Linked DNA regions of Homo sapiens: all the other regions are linked to region 4. Evidence: promoter capture Hi-C in 16 types of primary human blood cells and fetal thymus (Javierre and others, 2016). All regions are on one chromosome and are shown on one strand. Each heading gives the region's core, a stretch centred on a gene start or on the middle of the fragment in contact. The rest is flanking DNA. Distances are from core to core; before and after follow the strand shown. Region 1 has its middle 20 kb from the start of TRC-GCA16-1. Region 2 has its middle 2.6 kb from the start of TRC-GCA16-1. Region 3 has its middle 7.3 kb from the start of TRC-GCA22-1. Region 4 holds the start of ZNF783 (zinc finger protein 783).

Region 1 (2,700 bases), core at 97-2,596, 260 kb after region 4:
ATATATCTTCTAAGAACAAAGGCATTCTCCTATATAATCACAATATACTCAGAAAGTTTATGAATTACACAATCAGCTGTTATGCAATGCACATTCTATATTTCTTAATTATCCCAATAATATCATTGACAGTCTTTTATTTCTAATGCAGGACCCAATCAACGCTTTTGTTTGTATATGGTTTCCATGCATTTTAAGATCACTTTAATCTAGACTAGTTCTCTAGACTTCTGTTTTCTTTCACGATGTTGACATTTTTGAGGAGCCTGAGCCAGCTGTTTTGCAGAATGTCCCTGTATTCAATATCTATACAGCAGCATGACTGGATCTCACAAACATAAAAGTATGTAAAGTCAAAAATAGGCCCAAAATATGCTAAAATTAGTATATTGGTTTCTTTGGAGAGGATTTGTCTAATTGTTTTCTCATTATTTAAATAAAGTTCAATATTTTGGTAAAATTACTACAGAGGTGGGGTTGTGCTCTTCTCAGTGTATCACATCAGGAGGCAAGGAAGTCAGTTTGTCCCATGACTGGTGGAGTTGAATTTGATTATTTAACTTAAATGGTGTTTGACATATTTTTAAAAATTCTGTTCTCCAACAATATTCAACTAACAAATTTAGCATCTGATAATGATTGTTACCCAAATCAATTACTACAATGATGTTTATAAAATGATGTTTTATATTTCCATCATTCCATCTATATTTGTTAGTTAATTTTTTTGGTAAGGAAGAGATTTTCTCTCTTTACATTAAATAAAAAAATAAATTTACTAATATGGATTCACAGACTCTTTAATGAGCTATAAAATATTCCTATCTTTATTTGTTGCAATGCTTAAATTGCCCTAAATTTAGCTAGGAGTGAGTCTCTTCAGGCTGGCTCCTGTGTTCTGTTGACATAACTCTATCAGTTTTTAAGCACTTTCTTCTGGCACAAGATGTTCCATTGTTTACCTTTTAGGTTTCCTGTCCAGCCCTGGAATCAGACATTTCTTCAGGAGTTCCTGACTTCCCTTTCTTTCTTTCTCTTTCTTTCTTTTTCTTTCTCTTTTCTTTTTTCTTTCTTTTTTTCTTTTCTTTCTCCTTCCTTCCTTCCTTTCTTTTCTTTTTCTTTCTTTTCTTTCTTTCTCTCTCTTTTCTTTTTTTTTTTTCAGAGTCTCGCTCTGTCACCCAGGCTGAAGTGCAGTGGCGTGATCTCGGCTCACTGCAAGCTCCACCTCCCGGGTTCACGCCTCTGCCTCCCGAGTAGCTGGGACTACAGGTGCCCGCCACCACACCCGGCTAATTTTTATTTATTTATTTATTTTTTTAGTAGAGACAGGTTTTCACCATGTTAGCCAGGATGGTCTTGATCTCCTGACCTCGTGATCCACCTGCCTTGGCCTCCCAAAGTGCTGGGATTACAGGCGTGAGCCACCACGTCTGGTCTCCTGATTCCTCTTAAGGGAATTTAATTCTAAATTATGGGCATTAAGAGTGCTCAATGCAACTAAATGATTGTTTCTGGTCCCTTTCAGAAGGCAGTTATGAAATTCTGTGTGTGTGTGTGTGTGTGTGTGTGTGTGTATTTACACCACTACTTACAATGTCAGTCCAACACTGTGGTACTTCCTTGCCTCCCTCTGAGAGAGGAGAAAGGAAAAAAACCCAGTTGAGCTGACAGTTAAGGCAGGTACTAAGTAGAATTTTTTCAAACAGAGAAACAGCCTGAAAAATAAAGCTGCAGGCCAGGCGTGGTGGATCATGCTTGTAATCCCAGCACTCTGGGAGGCCAAGGCAGGCGGATCACAAGGTCAGGAGATCAAGACCATCCTGGCTAGCATGGTGAAACCCTGTCTCTACTGAAAATACAAAAAAATTAGCCAGGTGTGGCGGGTGCCTGTAGTCCCAGCTATTCAGGAGGCTAAGGCAGGAGAATGGCGTGAACCTGGGAGGCAGAGCTTGCAGTGAGCTGAGATTGCACCACTGCACTCCAGCCTGGGCAGCAGAGTGAGACTCCGTCTCAAAAAAAAAAAAAAAAAAAAAAAATCAAGCTGCAGCTGCACAGATATGGGAGCAAGCCCCAATAAAGAAATGCCTTTGTTCTTTGTATGATCAACAGGCTCCCAAGAAAAGGTTTCCTCCCTTTCTATGAACATGCAAATGGTGGGCTCCGTGGAAACTTGCATGTTGGGGGAGGCTTACCTGAGACATGCTGCAGCTGCACAGATAAGGGCAGTTACACAGACAGCTACACAGATAGGGAAAGTTTCTTAAAAAACCCTTTGTATTCAACTGAAAAAATGGCAATGCTTCTGGGCCCCCTGCTGTGGAGAGCTTTCCTCTTTTGCTTATTAAACTTTTGCTCCAACCTCACCCTTGGTGTCCACACTCCTTAATGTTCTTGGTTGTGAGACAAAGAGCTTGGGTAATACCTCAGACAACAAGACTGCAACACTGTGGCGTGTTGGCCAGGAAACGACATATTGGAATGGTGAGCAGGAGCTGACCTCCAACTCTTTACTTTCATTTCTGAGACTTCTCATTCTCAGTTTTTAAAAATTAAACAAAACACTGGAACCCTGTCAGCCAGTTAAAGATGAATAATGTGGCTGCCAGCCTTACAAGACTAAGGGGACAGACATGCTGGAGAGGACTTTGTCAATCCCCGATCACCCTCAGGTAGTGGGAATGTTGGCTCTGTTCCAATCCA
Region 2 (2,700 bases), core at 127-2,626, 280 kb after region 4:
AGTGAGCCGAGATCGCGCCACTGCACTCCAGCCTGGGTGATGCAGCGAGACTCCGTCTCAAAAAAAAAAAAAAAAAAAAAAAAGAAATATTTCCAGTGATAAAGATGGACATTTCATAATGATAAAAGGGTTAATTTATTAAGAAGATGTAAGAATCTTAAGTGTGTACATGCCTAATTACAGAGTTCCAAAACACATAAAGCAAAAACAAAGGGAAGCATAAAGAAAATTGACAAATTCACAATTATAACTGGAGATTTTAGTACTTTCCTTAGTAACAAGTAACACAAACAAGCAAAAAAGTCAGTAAGAATATAGATTTAAACCACACTATTAACCAACTTATTTAAATTGCACTTATGTAACACAACATCCAACAACTACACAATACACATTTTTTTCAAGTGCATATCGAATATTTACCAACATAGACCATATGTTGGGCCATAAAACAAGTCTGAATCAATTTTAAAAGCTTTGGATCATACAGAGTATGAACATCTATGAATGTGTCTCCTGGTGCACATGTAGCAGAGTTTCTATAGGGCATATGCCCGAGAGAGAAATGAGAGTATATGCATGAGTAGCTTTACTAAATAATACTAAACTGTTTTTCAAAGAAGTTATACAGGTGTATGATATGCTCTTACCAGCAGTGTAGAAGAGCTCTCATTGGTTTACATCATTGGAGTAGAAAATGTACTCTGACACCATGGAGTGCCAGGAAATTTAATTTCTTACTAATTTGGTGACGGCTGTAACATGGTATTCCATTTTAAATTGCATTTACCTGATTACCACTGAGGTTAAGCATTTTGTATATGTCTAGTAGTCTTTCCTGTTACTTCTAAGAAATGCTTGTCAAGTTCTTTGCTTATTTTTCTCCTCTCCTTTTGGCTATTTTCTTATCAAGATAGTCTGTATTCTGGATAGAAGTCCTTTGTTGACTACCTGGTTGTGCCAGAAATTAAACTATACTGTCTCTTAGCTCTGAGCCCACCCTTCTTGACCCTGCTTACTGAGGCTGTGGCACTCTGCAAACTACATTTCTCATCTACCTGCTGGCTTCCTGCAGATTCTGCTGATTGAAGCAATAGATGAGGATGGGACGGCAGAAAGAGAAGAATGGGACATGCTTTTGTTCCATTTGTTGTTCCCATCAGCGCAGCCCCAGCAATGACCCTTAATGCTGGAAGCACTGGGTCTTGTGCCAGCTTTCTTATGGCACTCCTGGAACCACCCTCATTGGCAGCGCTCTACCTTGGAAGACCCACCTTCTGAGCTCCTGAGTTACTGGCACCAGCTGGGCAGCACCCCATCCTCACAAGTGTGAGGTCCAATTCCTCAGAGCCCCTGCTCCACAATTCTCTATTCTGATAACTGCAGCCTCTTCACTTTTTCTCTCAAAACTAGCAGGAGAAAGCTGCTTCCAGACGTTATTATCTCTGCATCACCTTGGGGTTCTCTTTGCCTTTCCATTTCATGAATGCCTATTTAACCAATACTTTATAATCAATTCTTTCTGTTGAAATGCCGAGTGTAGTTTCTGATTTCTTACTCTACCTTGGCTGATACAATGATTCACAAACCTCTCTTCCTGCTATGTGACTCACCTTTTCACTATCTGAGGGCTTTCAGAACAGAGACGTTTCTTAACTGCAATGAACCAGAATGGATTAATACATGGATTAATAAATCTTTTTTTATATTGTCTTAATTTGAAAATCCTTCTTCTACTCCAATATCATAAGAATTTTCTCATATTTTCTAAATTTGTTAAAAAGATTTTTTTATATTTAGGTCTTGAATCCTCTTGGAATTTATTTTGTGAATGAATATCTAATTGTCCTAGCACTCTTTTATCAGAGAGTACACCCTTTCTTCACTGGTCTACAATGCTGCCTCTCTCATATATCAGGTTTCTATCTATGGATAGTCAATTTTTAGAATCCCCATTCTCTTCATTAGTTTTGTTTGTGTACCCTTATGTCAATACTACACGGTCTTATAACATTATAAGTCTTCATATCTGGTAGCGCTGGTTTCCTTGCCTAATTATTTTTCTTCAGATAAACTCTACCTATTCCCAACTCTTTATTTTCCCACATAATTTTTAACATTAGTGTGTCAATTACTATAAAAATCACTATTAGGATTTTGATTGCAATTGCATTAAATCTGTAAATTTGGAGAGCAGTATCTTTACAAAATTGTCTTGTCCTATCCAAAAACAAAGCATACTTCTCTACTTATTTAAGTACCCTTTAAATATTTCAATGAAGCTTTAAAATAGTCTAAACAAAGGTCTTGTACAACTTGTATTTATTCCTAGGGAGCCTGTATTTTTGTTACTCTGTTAAGAAATTTCATTTCTGTTACAGGTGTGTGGAAATATATTTGATTTAAAATAAGTTTATTGTATAACTTATTTGAATTTATTAAAATTAATAATTCAGATAATTTGTAGATTACTTTGTGTTTTCTATATAACCACAGTGTCACTGAAATAATGGGTGTTTTGTTTCTTCTATTCCACTGAAAAACCCTACTTTTTTGGTCTTAAATGCACTACCTCTAGCTTTTGGTGGTTTTAAATAGAAACAAAGCTACCACGCATCTTTGTCATTTCCAGTTTTTAAGAGAATGCTTCTAACGTTGCACCATTAAGTATGACGGTTGCTGGTTGTAGACTTTTGGACT
Region 3 (2,700 bases), core at 114-2,613, 300 kb after region 4:
GGACACAGACGATTTGGACAACATGACTAACAAAACTGACCTGTTTAACATGTAAAGAATCTTGCACTTAAATGCAGAATATGCATTTTTTTCCAAGCACACGTGGAACACTGACAAACATGAGTTGTATACTGAACCACAAAGCGAGTCTTAACAAATTCCAAAGTATTGAAATCATAAACAGCATGTTTTCTGACAAAAATAAAATTAAGCTAGAAATTAATAACATCAAATAACTAACAAATCCAACAAATATTAGAAAATCTTTGTGTTTAGAAACTAAAAATTCTACATATAAATAACCCATGGGTCAAAGAATAAATTGTAATAGGAATTATAAAATATTTTGAACTAAATGATGAAAATACTAGATATTAAAATTTATCAGTTGCAGCTCTAGAGTACTTACATGGCAATTTACAGTCTTAATGCATCTCTAGTATTATAGAAAGAAAAGGTTAAAATGAACAAACTAAGCATCTCTCCCAAAAGGCATGAATAATAGTAAAATGAATCCAAGGAAAAAATAAGGGAGAAAGTAATACATTAATTAATGAAAGCACAAATTAATTAAGTAGAAAACACACAAGAGAGAGGGTCAATGAAGCTAAAGTTGTTTTTTGAAACAAACAATAAAAGTAATAACCCAGACAAGATTGACAAAGTAACACTAATAACCAATATCAGGAGAGAAAAGGATGCATTATTATAGTTCCCCCAAAATTAAAAAGATTGTAAGATATTATTATGAGCAATTTTATGCCAATGAAATGTAATATTTACATGGCATGGAAAAGTTTCTAGAAAAGTAAAACTTACATGAAGAGAGAAATTCTTTGTCTGCTTGATGGTCTTGGCTCTCTCTCCCTTCTCATTAATCTACTTTAGTTTAGCAGTACTAAACTGGTTCAAAGGAAAAAAATACAATTTTTTAGCTGATACAGGTACCATTATGCCAACCTCATAAGCACTTGGTGGCAATGCTCCACATTCTCCTGTCTACCAGCAAGGCTGATTCTTTTGCCAAGAAGCTTCTACTATTAAGTATTCCCTCCAAACTTCCCTGTAAATATCTGATGTGGCACAGAGAAAGAACGTCTCTTCTGGAGTACTTGCTACCGTGTGTCTAACTGTGTCCAGCTCAAGAACATGTTTCCTTGAAATAAAGAGAGTTTGGGAAGTTGCAGACATTCTGATGCATTGTTTGTAACTTTTCCCAAATAAATCTTACTTTATGCTTATACTAGTGGTATTTGTCCTCGACATCTGGCTTAATTTTATCAAAATTGACACAAGAAGAAGTAAAAATCATGACTAATCATGGAACAATTAAGGAACTTGTATTTTCAATGAAACATTCTGCCATTAAAAAAGTAACAAAAAACTTCCAGGCACAGATAGTTTAAACACTTGTTATACCAAACACTTGTTATACCAATCACTTCAGAATGAAACGATGTAAGTCTTACACAGACACTTCTGGAGAATAGAAAACTAAAAGCAGCAGTCCCTTTCCCACCTCATTTTATGAGGTTAAACTTATTATAAAAAATAACAAAGACAATGTAAGAAAACAGGCCAATCTCACATATTAATATAGAATAGACTTTAAAAACCATAAGCAAAACTATTAATAAATCAAAGCCAGCATTACATAAAAAATAACACATAACCAAATTAAGATCATTTCAGAATGTAAGCTTGACTTAACATTAGAAAAATCTATTACTGTAATTCACCACACTATAGGATATAGCAAATGCTGTTGCTGCCCCACTGATATTCCTTCAGAACTTATCAGTTCTGTGCATGCAGGCCCCAATTTCAACTGTCAGCACCTGTAACTTTATGTCTGAGGGCATTCTCAGGCTGCCCAAACATGTAACAGGCTGAAAGTACCAAATAATTAGGACCCAACCTTCGAAAGCAACCCTCTACCGATGACTGATAGCAGTAGATGGAGAAATACACAAGTTGCCTTGTTCTTTTGGAGAGGATAACCCTCAAGCATGTTATACATCTTACAAAGTCCCCAACGGTATTAAGCTCCAGTTGCCTATAATGGTAACTTGTCCAATATCCCACTGTGAAAGTTGTCAGAATGAAAATGGAGTCACTTGTGTTAAAACCCGGCAAATGGAGCCAGGGAAGGCCACAAAGGTAGAGCTTTTATATATGAATTCCTGATAACAAGAACTATCACAAAAGACTGTAAAAACCACAACCTTGCACAAAGGCCATTGTAACCTTACACACTCACAAAAAATACTTCTGCAAGGACATCTGCCCAGCAAAAGCCTGACTAGCCTTGGACTGTTGCCACCCTTGTTACTGATTGCTAGAGCCAAGAATTATTTCTCCAAAACAATTTATATAATCCTTCTCATTTTGCCTTTAAAAACTTTCCCTTACCATGACCTCCTCAAAAACACACATAGTTTACTGTGACACCTGTATTCCCATTGCCAATGCTCATTCCCTAAATAAATATAATTTCCTTTCAGAGAGCTTCCGTCTGTTATTTAGGTTAACACCACCTTTTATTGGCTTCTTTCCTTTCTCTGACTTCCCACTCCTTACTGGTGTTTCCTGAACTTACCTCCCAAATAAACTACTTGCTCTTAAATTCTAGCTTCAGGGTCTGCTTCTAAGGAAATCCAAGCTAAGACAACAGATTAAAGGAAAAAAATCATGTCATTA
Region 4 (2,700 bases), core at 32-2,531:
TTTACTGGTATTTTATAATCCTGAATAGATTGGACTGATCCCTGATAAGATCCTAGGGATGCTCTTAATGTCTTTAGTGCATACTTGCAGTTTGTGTTTTAGATTGGGATAGTTCAACAAGAATTTCCAAAATGAATAATGCCAAATATTTATTTGATTTGTTACCTTAAAGTAACACGTCCTAACCTTTCCGCAAATTTTGGGGTTCACCTTACTTAGGATATCAGTTTGTGTTTTTTCTGATAGTTGACCACGCTTTTGCTTGGCTCAAATATTTGTGAAAATAACTTCTCACCCTCACCCCCCCCCCCCAAAAAAGAAAAAACAAAACCAAAACCAAAAAACCCCAAACAAACCCAAACACAGAAAGAAACAAAACTGCAGATTTCTAGCGGGAAGAGTTTGCCAGCTTGTTGGACAAAGACTGTGAGATGAATGGGAAATGCAGAAAAGACAGAAAACAAAGCTTCAACTGCATACAGCACATTTAGTTCAATATGCCTCAGCACAGGCCGAGGAAAATGGGTCCTGCGGTTTATTCAAGATGCCTCAGGGCCTAAATGAGGGATGGACTGATTCACACTTGCTGTGATCTCAGCCTGGACCAAAGCTACAGAAGGGTCCTCGTGGGTGGCTGAGGACTTTCACCAGGCGGGCCCCGGGAGGAGGAAGGGACCCCAGAGTCCTCAGGAGGGGAGGGCAGGCTTAGGAAAAAAAAAAAAAAAATCCTACCATCTTCACGTTTGTTCTGTCAAATTTAAAAGAGACTTTAAAAACGTTCATGTAAGTTTCCCTGGCTTCTCCCTGGGTACACACGTATCCTTTTTACTTTCCCCAACTCAGTTCTGTGGTGCGTGGGAGGCGCTGCAACAGAGTCTCGGTCCGGACTGGAGCCCCGGCGAGGGCCGACCCCGTTCCCCACGCAGCTTTCCCTCGCGAGGTTTCGCACTTTCCAGCGCGGTTCCTTCCCGCAGCCCTCCCGGCTCCCGCGTGGGACGCAGAGAGAGGTTGGGCGCCGCGCTGGCCCGGGAGTGGCTTACGCCTGACGTAGCCCCGCTGGAGGCCGTGGCACGCCCGCCCTGGCGTCAACTCCCGCGCCCCGGGTGAGGGTGGGTGGCCGCGCCTGGGTCCCGGACGCCGCGGGCGCTGAAGGCCTCGGGAGGGCGCGGGGCGGCGGCCGCGGGCGTGCGGTCCTACGGGCTGCAGGGGGCGCTGTGCGCGTCCTCAAGCTCGGCCGCCGAGCGCAGCTCTTTTTTAAAGGGCCAGCGGGGCACGTGGCTCGGGACGCAGTTCGCTGCCGCCCGGCAGTAGCTCTCAGGTTAGGCGGGTCCCGCTCCGCTTCCGCCGTCGCTGCCGCGCCGCCCCGGGCCCGACAGGCCGGGTCCAGGGACTGCAACCCAGCGAGGGACGCGGGCAGCCATGGCCGAAGCGGCGCCTGCCCGGGTAAGCGCCCTCGGCCCCGCGGACGCCCGGAAGGCCCAGGCCGCCGCCGCGTGAGCCCGCGCGAGGGACTCTGGCCGCGCGAGGCCGCGGGGTGAGAGGGCCTTGCGCGCAGCCTCCGCGCTCGTTGCCCCCGGCCCATCGCCCAGCCCGCGTCGAAGGCATTGACCGGGCGGCCCAAATGCCAGGCCCGGCGGGCGGGGCCCCGACGTCAGCGGCTGACGATCCGGCCCATCTGCGGCCTCAGCCAGGCCGGGCCCCAGAGTCACGCTCGGCGACGAGGAGGCCGCGCCTTAGGAGTATTGTCCCATTTGAGGCCTCGCGGCCCCCCCTACAGCAGGCTGGGCGGGCAGGGGCCGCCAGCCCCACGGGACAGTAGCGGAGGCTGAGATGGGAAGGGACAGGCCCAGGGTCACGCATCTATTAGAGGCGGGAGCCTCACGCCGGGGCAGGGATTTTGGAATTAGACACTTTAAAACGCCTCATATTCTACTTTTGCCAAAGAGAAAGATTGTGTCGTTTACAAGAGAGATAGTAGATTTTTTTAAAAAAGATTACTGTAGCAGATTTTATTTAATTTTTTTTTTTGAGAGGGAGTCTCGCTCTGTTGCGCATGCTGGATGGAGTGCAGTGGCACGATCTCGGCTCACTGCAAGCTCCGCCTCCCGGCTTCAAGGGATTCTCCTGCCTCAGCCTCCCAAGTAGCTGGGACTACAGGCGCCTGCTACCACGCCTGGCTAATTTTTCTATTTTTGGTAGAGACTGGGTTTCACTATGTTGGCCAGGCTGGTCTCGAACCCCTGACCTCGTGATCTGCCCGCCCCGGCCTCCCAAAGTGCTGGGATTACAGACGAGAGCTACCGCGCCCGGCCATTTTAAAATTTTTTAATTAAAAAAGTATATATATATACGTGTGTGTGTGTGTGTGTGTGTGTGTGTGTGTGTGTGTGTATATATATATATATATATATTTTTTTTTTAGACACAGTCTCACTCTCACCCAGGGTGGAGTGTAGTGGCGGGATCTCATCTCACTGCAACCTCTGCCTCTGCCTCCCGGGTTCAAGGTATTCTCCTGCCTCAGCCTCCCAATCCCAAGTAGCTGGGATTACAGGCGCAGGTGCCTGTCTCATTTATATCTATCTATCTATCTGTCCAGATACATATCTATATGAATAAGTTTATTCATAAGAATACACTATAAGTATTCCTATACAGAATTTTTCTCCTGGAGAAGGAAGAATCACATCAGTTTTTTTG

What was found. Contacts are between HindIII fragments. The CHiCAGO score rates a contact against its expected background, and 5 or more counts as called.
Region 1: a fragment that was not itself captured here is called in contact with the fragment with the promoter of ZNF783 in region 4 in 1 of 17 cell types (neutrophils); the score reaches 7.7 in neutrophils.
Region 2: a fragment that was not itself captured here is called in contact with the fragment with the promoter of ZNF783 in region 4 in 9 of 17 cell types (neutrophils, naive CD8 T cells, M1 macrophages and 6 more); the score reaches 9.4 in neutrophils.
Region 3: a fragment that was not itself captured here is called in contact with the fragment with the promoter of ZNF783 in region 4 in 5 of 17 cell types (erythroblasts, monocytes, endothelial precursors and 2 more); the score reaches 9.3 in erythroblasts.

What each region holds. Positions count from the first base shown.
Region 1 is chr7:149,525,393-149,528,092 of GRCh38, forward strand. No RefSeq gene overlaps it. Among named protein-coding and RNA genes, the nearest start is that of TRC-GCA16-1, 20 kb to the right of the region's middle. The HindIII fragment of the contact is 6,318 bases long and covers 1-2,700 here.
Region 2 is chr7:149,542,628-149,545,327 of GRCh38, forward strand. No RefSeq gene overlaps it. Among named protein-coding and RNA genes, the nearest start is that of TRC-GCA16-1, 2.6 kb to the right of the region's middle. The HindIII fragment of the contact is 1,807 bases long and covers 474-2,280 here.
Region 3 is chr7:149,562,701-149,565,400 of GRCh38, forward strand. It overlaps the pseudogene ZNF767P. Among named protein-coding and RNA genes, the nearest start is that of TRC-GCA22-1, 7.3 kb to the left of the region's middle. The HindIII fragment of the contact is 669 bases long and covers 1,030-1,698 here.
Region 4 is chr7:149,260,915-149,263,614 of GRCh38, forward strand. It overlaps ZNF783 (zinc finger protein 783), which reads left to right and starts at 1,282. Exons shown (of 6, transcript NM_001195220.2): 1 at 1,282-1,443. The coding sequence starts at 1,420. LOC124901769 (a long non-coding RNA gene) reads right to left here and starts at 1,427. Exons shown (of 2, transcript XR_007060582.1): 1 at 733-1,427. RefSeq lists a silencer at 880-1,749. The HindIII fragment of the contact is 3,928 bases long and covers 465-2,700 here.